Linked DNA regions of Homo sapiens: regions 1 and 2 are each linked to region 3. The links are contacts of gene promoters, found by promoter capture Hi-C in human tissues and cell types (Jung and others, 2019). All regions are on one chromosome and are shown on one strand. Each heading gives the region's core, a stretch centred on a gene start or on the middle of the fragment in contact. The rest is flanking DNA. Distances are from core to core; before and after follow the strand shown. Region 1 has its middle 4.2 kb from the start of MIR1289-1. Region 2 overlaps MMP24-AS1-EDEM2 (MMP24-AS1-EDEM2 readthrough). Region 3 holds the start of CNBD2 (cyclic nucleotide binding domain containing 2).

The links. Contacts are between HindIII fragments. The study calls those that stand out against the background at their distance.
Region 1: a fragment that was not itself captured here is called in contact with the fragment with the promoter of CNBD2 in region 3 in 1 of the 25 tissues and cell types used here (lymphoblastoid cells).
Region 2: a contact is called between a fragment that was not itself captured here and the fragment with the promoter of CNBD2 in region 3, in 1 of the 25 tissues and cell types used here (dorsolateral prefrontal cortex).

The regions. Positions count from the first base shown.
Region 1 is chr20:35,448,038-35,451,836 of GRCh38, forward strand. It overlaps a transcript of GDF5 not described here. Among named protein-coding and RNA genes, the nearest start is that of MIR1289-1, 4.2 kb to the right of the region's middle. The HindIII fragment of the contact is 8,774 bases long and covers 1-3,799 here.
Region 2 is chr20:35,190,147-35,193,787 of GRCh38, forward strand. All of the region lies in intron 4 of MMP24-AS1-EDEM2 (MMP24-AS1-EDEM2 readthrough), which reads right to left. It also overlaps a transcript of PROCR not described here. Among named protein-coding and RNA genes, the nearest start is that of PROCR, 20 kb to the left of the region's middle. The HindIII fragment of the contact is 4,534 bases long and covers 53-3,641 here.
Region 3 is chr20:35,967,242-35,970,758 of GRCh38, forward strand. It overlaps CNBD2 (cyclic nucleotide binding domain containing 2), which reads left to right and starts at 1,349. Exons shown (of 12, transcript NM_001365709.1): 1 at 1,349-1,572. The coding sequence starts at 1,522. It also overlaps the pseudogene LOC124904982. The HindIII fragment of the contact is 12,223 bases long and covers 1-3,517 here.

The DNA of each region.
Region 1 (3,799 bases), core at 105-2,604, 520 kb before region 3:
TTGTAAAAATATTCAAATAATACCAAAGTTTATAAAGTTAAAAGAGAAAGTTCCCCTCTCCCCTCACACCCCAATCTCTCTAATCACAGGAAACCTCTCTAATCACTGGAAACCTTGTTGTCATTCTTGAGCTCAGAAATCTCAGATCCTTGCTGGACTCCTCCACTCCTCCTTCCCTCCATCTAATTCTAATTCCCACTTTGTGTATAAGAACCCTAGCTGGTAAGTACTGTTATCCCCATATTGCAGCTGAGGAATTTGAGGCTCAGAAAGGGAAAGAGGGTTGCTCAAGAACATAAGGCAAGCTGGACGCGGTGGTGCACATCTGTAGTCCTGGCTACGGGACTTTTTGTTTTTTTCAAAAAAAAAAAAAAAAATATATATATATATATAGTTAAGGGCCCCCCCGACTTTTTTTTTTTTTTTTTTTTTGTCTCACTCTGTCACCCAGGCTGGAGTGCAGTGGAGCAATCTTGGCTCACTGTAACCTCCTCCTCACAGGTTCAAGCGATTCTTGTGCCTCAGCCTTCCGAGCAGCTGGGATCACAGGTGCACGACACCAGGCCCGGCTAATTTGTGTATTTTTAGTAGAGACAGGGTTTCGCCATGTTGGCCAGGCTGGTCTCAAACTTCTGGCTTCAAGCGATCCACTTGCCTCCACCTCCCAAAGTGCTGGGATTACAGGCATGAGCCATCAGGCCTGACCAAGGGCCCATTTTTGAGGAAGGAGAGGACCTGGTCCTGTGGGAACTGTGACTGGACATCCTTTATTGCCCAAGCCCTGAGTGATAGTGAAAAGATGTCATCCACTTCAAGAATCTCAAGCTTGGGTACGCTGGTCACTTCGAGCCTGACTTAGTGAGTGAGAGGGGGCTAGGACTGGAATAAGAACTGCCTACTGAGGCGGGGTCAGGACCAGGGAGAAAATATCCAGCTGACAAAGGGAATCCAACTAGGGAGATTGACACAATTCAACCAGATGGTGGCATCAGCAAGAGGAGTGTCCGGCATTCCTAACACATCCCATGCTCTAGCATGCTGCTGTGCCTTTGCACATGCTGCTTGGAATCCCCGCCACCACCCCACCCCTGCCACTTTGCTTAGCATTTTTTTTTGAGATGGGGTCTTGCTATGCTGCCCAGGCTGGTCTCAAACTCCTAAGCTCAAGAGGTTCTTCTGACTCAGCCTCTTGAGTGGGTGGGACTACAGCCACATGCCACCATGCCTGGCTTGTCTGCTTAGCATTTTTTTTTTTTGAGACAGGGTCTTGCTGTGTTGCCCAGGTTGGAGTGCAGTGGCTTGAACACAGCTCACTGCAGCCTCAACCTCCTGGGCTCAAGCGATCCTTCCTACCTCAGCCTCCAGAATAGTTGGGACTACAGTAGTGCACCACCACACCTGGCTAATTTTAGCGTTTTTATCCTTCACAAACAAGTCATAGTGGCCTGATGCTGTGTAGCCAGCTGCTCCCTCTTTATAGAATTTACTACACTGTGTGTGTGTGAACTATTTCTTTACTTGCTTGCCTGCCATGTGAGTTTGTGAACAGAGGCTCTGGACAGAGTTCATTTATTATTGTTCTTTGGGTCCCTCCCAGTGCATAACTCAACTTTTGGCACACAGTAGGTGCTCAATCAATATTTTAAAAATAATGAATGAATGGAACTTCAGCGCGGCAGCTCAAGCCTATAATCCCAGCACTTTGGGAGGCTAAAGTAGGAACATTGCTTGATGCCAGGAATTCAAGACCAACCTGGACAACACAGTGAGTCCCCATCTCTACAAAAAAATTTTTAAACAAATTAGCCAGGACTGGTGGCACAGGCCTATAGTCTTAGCTACTCGGGAGGCTGAGCCAGGAGGATCGCTTGAGCCCAGGAGATTGAAGCTGCAGTGAGCTATGATCAAATCACTGCACTCCAACCTGAGTGAAAGAGCAAAACCCTGTCTCTTAAAAAAAAAAAAAGAGAGAGAGAGAGAATGGGCCGGGCGTCGCGGCTCACGCCTGTAATCCCAGCACTTTGGGAAGCCGAGGTGGGCGGATCACTTGAGGTCAGGAATTCAAGACCAGCCTCGCTAACATGGTGAAACCCCATCTCTACTGAAAAAAAAAAAAAAAGCTGGGTGTGGTGGTGGTGGGCGCCTGTAATCCCAGCTTCTCAGGAGGCTGAGGCACGAGGATCACTTGAACCCAGGAGGCGGAGGTTGCAATGAGCCAAGATCGTGCCACTGCACTCCAGCCTGGGCTACAAAGTGAGACTCTGTAAAAAAAAAAAAAAAGAATGGACTCAGAGGAACAGCAGCAAGAGACTATCGTTTTGGTGCTCCAGACTGTTACCTTGCAGTGAGAAAGAAAGAGGAAAGTGGTTGACTTTTTTTCCCTCTATTTTTCCCTCTCTGTCATCCTCAGCTCACTTTAGTCACTCAACATGTCTCCATGTTAACATGGAGAGGAAGATGGGGGTGGGAAAAGTCTTCTTTGAACCAGTGTAATAGCTGGCTTAGTGCTTTCTGGGCCTCGCAGATGTTTATAGCCATCTCTATCCATCATCAAAGCATCATGGGGTGCTTTTATACACTCTTCAGGGGTTCCCTACTGGCCCCTCTCCTGCAGTTCCCTTAGCAAAGGCATCTATTAATGGCCATTTGTCTAGCTTCTTGTTCCTGGGGTCCCTTTATACCTCCAGGAAGCCCTACTGAACAGGACCTAATAGTCAGCAGGCTTGTCTCTTCTTGCTAGAGTTCACAGGCAGGAAGCATATCCTGGTCACGATACTCCCTAAGTGCAATGGTATGGATTCTGCATCTCAGATTCTCATGGAAGCCCCCTCTCCTAGTCACTTGGTTTGAGCGGTTAAAAGTAATGTCCTCTTAATCTTCCCCAAGGAGGAATGGGGACTCATAGCCAGAAATATCTCCACACAAATTATCTATCCTCCACCTGCAGACCCCTTTATATTGGGATAAGGGATTTAGGAACTTTCAAACAGATTTTAGACTAACAGAAAAAAAAAAAAAAAAAAAAAAATATATATATATATATATATATATATATACACAAATATATATGTAGTGATTTAGCACCTCATTTTGAAATTTCACATACATATATATATATATTTTTTAATTCAGTTAGTCCAGACGGCCTCTTGGCATGGGCTAGGAGGAATATGTATAAATAATGAGCAAGGCTGGGTGTAGGAAAGATCCATATTATAGCCCTCAGAGAGGGTTTGAGTACAAGGCATATTTCTAGAGATGGAATTTAGGATATAAAGGAAGAAACCGTTCCCCTCACCTGGCAGGGACCAGGGTTGATTTTCTTTCAACTCATCCATTGCCTTTCCCTCCAATCCAGCCTCCTTTGAGAACTCCCCAGTCTGGTTCATCAGACAGGTCTGAACATGATCAGACTTGAATTGTCTGGTTTAAGTCTTTATAGGACTCTTGGGCCCCAAGCCAGGTGATAGGTAGGAACACCTGTTTGTACGTCTCAAATGCTCCATGCAGTTTGCAGAATGCGTTTTTTTTCTGTTTTTTTTTCCTTTTTTTTTTTTTTTCGAGACAGGGTCTTACTCCTGTCACCCAGGCTAGAGTGCAGTAGGGCCATCACGGCTCATTGCAGCCTCGACCTCCTGGGCTCAAGCAATCCTCTCACCTCATTTTTTTATTTTTTTGTAGAGACAAGGTCTAACTATGTTGCCCAGGCTGGTCTCCAACTCCTGGGCCCAAGTGATCCACCTGTCTTGGCCTTCTAAAGTGCTGGGGTTACAGGCGTGAGCCACTGCACCCAGCCATC
Region 2 (3,641 bases), core at 1,070-3,569, 780 kb before region 3:
TATTTCTTCTAATATCTCTTGGTATATCCGATGATCTGTTGTATGTGTACTGGCATATAACAGGGTTCTCATGGGTAGCCTTAATCTTGCATCACACTCACTATAATCAGGATTTCTACATATCCCAAAAAATAGATCCAACTCGCAATGCAGGGATATTGTACTGATTACTTCATGGGGATCCTGGCTGTACCATACCCCACACAGCAGAAGCTTAATCAATTCTTAGACATTTCTGTTCTTTTTCTTAAGCTTGATCTCTCTCAACATCAACGAACTTATCTCTCTTCCTTCTCTTTCCTCTCACAACCTTGCCCCCTTTTCCCACCCAAACAAAAAACAAAACCCATTATTTTATTAAGCCTTTCATTTTTCAGTATGTTTATTTTTCTCAGCAAAACAAAAGCCCTGTAGTTTTTCTTATTTCCTTAAACATGGTGTTTTATTTCATCCAAATGCAAGTGAAGAGGAGATTAGATTTGGTTTGTGGAATTCCAGGGAACAGATTAATGAATGAGAGGAAGTCAGAGAGAAATAAATGTTAGTTTAATGTAACTTTCTGACCCAGCAATTCAATAATGGAACTGGCTGTTTCACAGAGTAGTGAACTCCCTGTTACTGGAAGTATTTGGCATGTCAAGTCCAACTTCTGACCTCTAAAACCGCATGTGACCGTCCTACATATGTTCAAAGATGATGGTCCTGTTCTCCTAAATCTTTTCTTCTTTTTTTGAGACAGAGTCTCGCTCCGTCGCCAGGCTGGAGTGCAGTGGTGTGATCTCGGCCCACTGCAATGTCTGCCTCCTCAGTTAAAGTGATTCTCCTGCCTCAGCCTCCTGAGTAGTTGGGACTACAGGCACGTACCACCAGGCCCAGCTAATTTTCATATTTTTAGTAGAGACAGGGTTTCACCATGTTGGCCAGGATGGTCTCGATCTCTTGACCTCATGATCCACCTACCTCAGCATCCCAAAGTGCTGGGATTACAGGCTGTGAACCACCGTGCCCAGCAATCTTTTCTTCTCCAGATTAAACATCTTACTTTCTTCAAGGGTTCCTTATTTGATGTGGCAGTTCAGTAACCTGCTATTGTTCTTCTGGACTTGTTACAATTTGTCAATTTCTCATGCATTTATTTAAAAAAATTTATTGAGTCGGGTCACTAGAATTACTAAATAAGAAAAAGAAAATTATTGAGTGACTTCTATGGTTCAGACGCTGTTTTAGGACGTGGGAATAGAGCAATATAGCAGAGAACAAAAACAAAGTCTGTCTTAGAAGCTACAGTTTACTGGGAGGGACAGACCCTAAACAAATAATTTTTTTTTAATGTCAGAGATAATTAGTAGGAAATAGGTAGAAAAATAAGGAAGGTCGAAGGGAGAATAACTGAGTTGCTGTTTTAGACAGCATAATCAGGGCAGGCCTCTGGAATAAGATGACAGTTGAGCAGAGATATGAAGGAAGTGCAAGAGTGGCCAGGGGAAGAACAAGCCAATTTAGATAGACCGAACAAGTGCAAAAGCTCTGAGGAGTAAGCTTGGTTTATTTCATGAACAAGGAGGCCAGTTTATCTGAAGTGGTACAGGCAAAGAGAAGAGAAAGAGCAGGAGGCAAATAACCGAGGGCCTAATAAGCCAATTATCTGTACTTTGCTATTTGTTCTGAGTGAGATGGAAAGGCATTGGAGGCTTTCGAGAAGAGGACTGACGTGATTTGACTTGCATTTGAAAAGCATCACTATGGCTACCATGGGGGGAAACAAAGTTTAAAAGGCAAAGAAATACTCAGGGACCTCCAAGGATACTCATACATTCCTGTTAGGAGGCAATAATATGGGTGAAAAATGATGGTGGCAAGGACAAGGGTGATACCACTACTTACCCATTACCCATCAGAATAGTCAGAAAGAAAAAGACAAACAAGGAAGGAAAGAAAAGACAGTATTGGCAAGGATACAGGCCAATTAGAACTTTCCTACACTGCTGTTGGTAAGGTAAATTGATATGAAACAACCACTGTTTAGAAAACCGCAGTATCTACTAAAGTTGAACATCTGCCTCCTAGGCATATGCCTAACAGAAACGTTTACCTATGTTCACTGAAAGACATATACAAGATTAGTCATAGCTGTAAGAATTAAAGAAAGAAGAGAGAAACACGAAGGGCGGCTCGACAGTCAACAGGGACAGGTTTATTCTGAATAAACTTGAGTGGGGCAGCTGGCCAAGTTAGGTCAGAGCCACACTCTCTTACAGACTAAGTGTTTTTAAGGATTCAGGGTGGGAGAATTTATCAGAGGCTTGGACTGCTTCTGTGTTTCTTTGTTGTGCTTATCTGGGAGGGAAAGTTGTGTGTCTGTTCCCATACATCTTTCTGCAGCTGCAGGCATATCCCCCGGGTTGCTTTTAGCTTCCCTATCTTAGTGCACCTGAAGGGAAAGGAATGTGCTTATTAGGGCCTACTGTTTTACTGGGAGCCATCGTATGAGGGTGAAGTTTGGCAGTTACCCAGGAGACTTTCCCCCCACCTCCCTCTGTACCCAAGCTGTCTTATCTATGTTTTACTGTCTGCTCTTTCTATTTGTACTTAGAAGAGAGTGATTTCCTTGAAATGCACGAGGCTAGAAAGGGAGCTGGAACTTAAAGTGGCAGTGTTTGTTCGAGATGACAGTGCTCCTGCTCTGTCAATAGCAGTATTCTTTGTAATATCCCCAACTAAAAAGTACCCAAACACCATCAAGAATAGAATAATGAAACAAATTATACTATATTTACATAATGGAATATACAACGAGAGTAGAAAAACTTAAACTACAAGTCTTAATATAAGTGAATGTCACAAATATAATATTGATCAAAAGAAGCCAAACACAAAAAAGTATAAACTATATGATTACATTTATATAAATTTCAAAGACACACAGAACTAACCTGTGGTGTTAGAAGCCAGGATATTGGTTACATTTGGGAAGCTAATGATTAGAAGGGAGACATGAGGGCTTCTGAGGCAATGCCCTGTTTCTTTCTTTCTTTTTTTTTTTTTTTTAAGATGGAGTCTCGCTCTGTCACCAGGCTGGAGTGTAGTGGCGCAATCTCGGCTCACTGCAACCTCCACCTCCCAGGTTCAAGCCATTCTCCTGCCACAGCCCCCCGAGTAGTTGGGCCTACAGGCGCATGCCACCACGCCCAGCTAATTTTTGTACTTTTAGTAGAGACGGGGTTTCACTGTGTTGGCCAGGATGGTCTTGATCTCTTGACCTCGTGATCTGCCTGCCTCAGCCTCCCAGAGTGCTGGGATTACAGGCATGAGCCACCGCACCTGGCCTGCCCTGTTTCTTAATCTGGATGCTGGCTATATCAATAGGCTCACTTTGTGAACATTCACTAAGTTGTACATTTATAATTTGAGCACTTTCCTGTATCAGTGTTATGCCTCAATAAAGTTTACATTACAAAGGAATGACTCAGAGGTTTTGATCTGTGCAACTGGAGGCTATAATTGACATTTATTGAAATGGGGAAGCTATAGAAGAAGCAGGTTTTGGTGGGAAATGCATTCATTATGTACATACTACATTTGATATTTATTAGACATCCAAGTTGAAATGCTGATAGAATGCAGTTGGTATACAAGTCTGC
Region 3 (3,517 bases), core at 99-2,598:
TTTTTTTTTTTTTTTTTTTTTTTTTTGAGACAGAGTCTTGCTCTGTCGTTCAGGCTGGAGTGCAGTGGCACAATCTTGGCTGACTGCAACCTCTGCCTCCCGGGTTCAAGTGATCCTCCCACCTCAGCCTCCCGAGTAGCTGGGATTATAGGTGCCCACCACCTCACCCGGCTAATTTTTTTGTATTTTTAGTAGGGATGGGGTTTCACCACATTGGCCAGGCTGGACCAGACCTTGCTTCTGTTAATTGGATGCTACAAATGGAGAGCAAGTGTACCTGACATTTAGCTACACTGCTTTCTTAAAAAAAAAAAAAAAAAAAAGGCCCTGGCCAGGAGTGGTGGTTTATGCCTGTAATCCCGGCACTTTGGGAGGCTGAGGTGGGTGGATCACTTGAGGTCAGGAGCTTGAGACCAGCCTGGGCAACGTGGTGAAAGCCTGTCTTTACTAAAAATACAAAAATCAGCCGGGCATGGTGGCACACGCCTGTAATCCTAGCTACTTGGGCGGCTGAGGCAGGAGAATCACTTGAATTTGGGAGGCAGAGGTTGCAGTGAGCTGAGATTGGGCCACTGCACTCCATCCTGGGAACAAAGTGAGACAGTGTCTCAAAAAACAAAAAAGCCCTATCTTTGCAGGACAGGTGAGCCCCCAAATTGAGACTTAGCTTAGGAGAGTTCTTGGCTTTGCCCAAGGAAGGAATTCAAGGGTGAGCCAGTGGTGTTAGACAGCAATCTTTTATTGAATAGTGCTTCTCCTTGTGGGGCAGGGCTAACTCATGGGCAATGAATCCGGAGTCGATACCCAGTGTATGAGATGTTGGCAACTGTATTTATGCTCATCTCTAATCCCTTCTCAGCCTTTTGGCTGAGATCAAGTGTAGTATACGCATTCCTACCCACTTTCAATCACATGCAAATTAAGGGGCAGGCTAATGCAAATTAAGGGGCAGGTTAATGCAAATTAAGGAGTGGGTTTTTAGAGTTTTCTAGGAAAGAGGTAGCAACTTCCTGGTCATTGCCAAGACATTTGTACACTGTCATGGCACTGGTAGGAGTGTCTTATGTTAATGAGGGATGGGGACAGCTAGGGGGTCCTAGATCCTGTTTTGGTCAGCAGGGTTGTGCCATTCTCCTGTCTCACCAGGACTCTGGCAGCCATTTAGCTACTTTGAGCCCCAGTCTCCTATGTATGGAGTTGAGTAAAAGTTTGGGTGGTTGTGAGGATTAGCTGAGATAATGCCTGTGAGTATCCCATAAATGTTAGACTCCCACATTCCAATCCCTGTGTCCCCTGCCTCCAGAATCTTTCATTGTGACCTTAGGAGATTCTGAGAATGATTTTTCTCAGAGCAGGGCTTCCAGTAGCTGATGGTATGGTAGGAGGAGTGGAGTGGAGCTCTTGCCTTGTTACTGAGGAAATCTATTTGTTTCTAGTATTACTGGATTTTTGGGGAAAAATTTGTAGTCCTCCCCTTGAAAGGCAAAGGGGCTAGTTGTGCCATTTGCCTGCACAGGAACCATGAGGAGACATATGGTAACTTATGCCTGGCAGCTCCTGAAGAAGGAACTGGTGAGGAGGGGCAAGGGCCCTGGGAGGGAAGAGCAGAAGACTGAACAGACAGGTGTTTTGAGGAAGGTCGATGCAGGTGTAGGAGGGGTCTTGGATGAATGGTGGCCATCCTGTACCTTTTGGAGTCACAGCATGGCACAAAGGAGGGACCCCTGCCCTGTAGCCTACCAGCCCCCCACACTGGGCAAGCCATAAGCCACACTCAGAGCCACTGAGTCCTGTTCTGTACCCACTCTTCCTGCTATTATGAGATCCAGAGAGAACGAGGGAGGATAGAGTCAGGGTAGCAACATTGAGTCATAGGTTAAGCTTGTGAACTCTGGAGCCAGACTACCTAGGTTTAAATCCCTATCACCTATTAGTCATGTGACCCCAGGCAAGTTGCTTGGTTTGCTGTGCCTTTATTTTCTCCTCTGTAAAGTGAGATGATAATACTAGTACCTACTGCATAAATTTACTGATTAAATGATTTACATATCAGAATAGTGCTTTGGATAATGCCTGACAATAGTAAATTGTACTCAGTAAGTATTAATTTTATTCATAAAGTACCTTTCCCCATATTTCCATAGATATCTAATTTTTAAGAAATAGAACATTACAGGTGTAGGGAAAGCTCTTTACCATCCCATGCCCCTTTATTTCTCTTTAATAGTAACCACTTTCCTGAAGTTGGTGTCACCCTTCCTGTTTATATTTTTATATATTATCACATGTGTATGTATCCATAAACAATATATAGTATGTGGCACACTGTTTAAAAATGATACCATAAATAGCATCATAGTTCTTTTTTCCCACTCAAAATCATTTCAGCTTTATCCACATTGACACACACAGACTTAGTGCTGTGTTCAATCCTGTGACTGAACCATAATGTATTGATCCCTTCGATCCCTACTAATGAACATTTGTTTTCAGCCATTCACTGTTACACACAATGTTGCCATGATTACCCTCATGGCTATCCCCTTGTACATGTATGTTTCTCTGAAGAGGACATATAAAGTACATACAATTCTTCCATTGTGAAGTACACACATCCTCAACTTTATATAATGTTGCCAAATTGCTCTTCAACATGGTTGTACCATGTTTCCCAGTTCCCAGTGATAAGTGCAAAATAGTATCATGTTATTACTTTAATTTCCATTTCCATTATTTCTAGCAATGTTAAAAATGGTTTCACAATTTGGCTGGGGCATGAAGGCTCATGCCTGTAATCCCAGCACTTTGGGAGGCTGAGGTGGAAGGATCACTTGAAGCCAGAGTTGGAAACCAGCCTGGGCAACAAAGTGAAACCCCCTCTTTACAAACAATGTAAATATAAATACAAATGAATAAAAACAATATTTTCACAATTTATAGGTAATTTGAACTTTCCCTTTGAATTACCTTTGCTCATTTTGCTATTGGGTTATTTGTATTTTTCTTTTGATTTGTAGGATTACAAAAAATAAATTTTGGATCGTAATCCTTTGTTGATTATATGCATAGTAAGTATATTTTTCCAGTCTGTAGTTCGTTGTCTCACTTTGTTTATGATACACTTTAAAAAGAACATTCTCTTTTTTCCTTTGTTTGTTTTTATTTATTTTTTTGAGACAGAGTCTCACTCTGTTGCCCAGGCTGGAGTGCAGTGGCGCAATTTCAGCTCACTGCAACCTCCACCTCCCAGGTTCAAGTGCTCCTGGTGCCTCAGCCTCCTGAGTAGCTGGGATTACAGGCGCCCACCACCACGCCCGGCTAATTTTTGTTTTTTTTAGTGCAGATGGGATTTCACCATGTTGGCCAGACTAGTCTCAAACTCCTGGTCTCAAGTGATCAGCCCACCTTGGCCTCCCAAAGTGCTAGGATTGCAGGCATGAGCCATTGTGCCAGAGCTGTTTGTTTGTTTGTTTGTTTCATTTTGTTGTTGTTGTTACAGGGTCTTGCTCTGTTACCC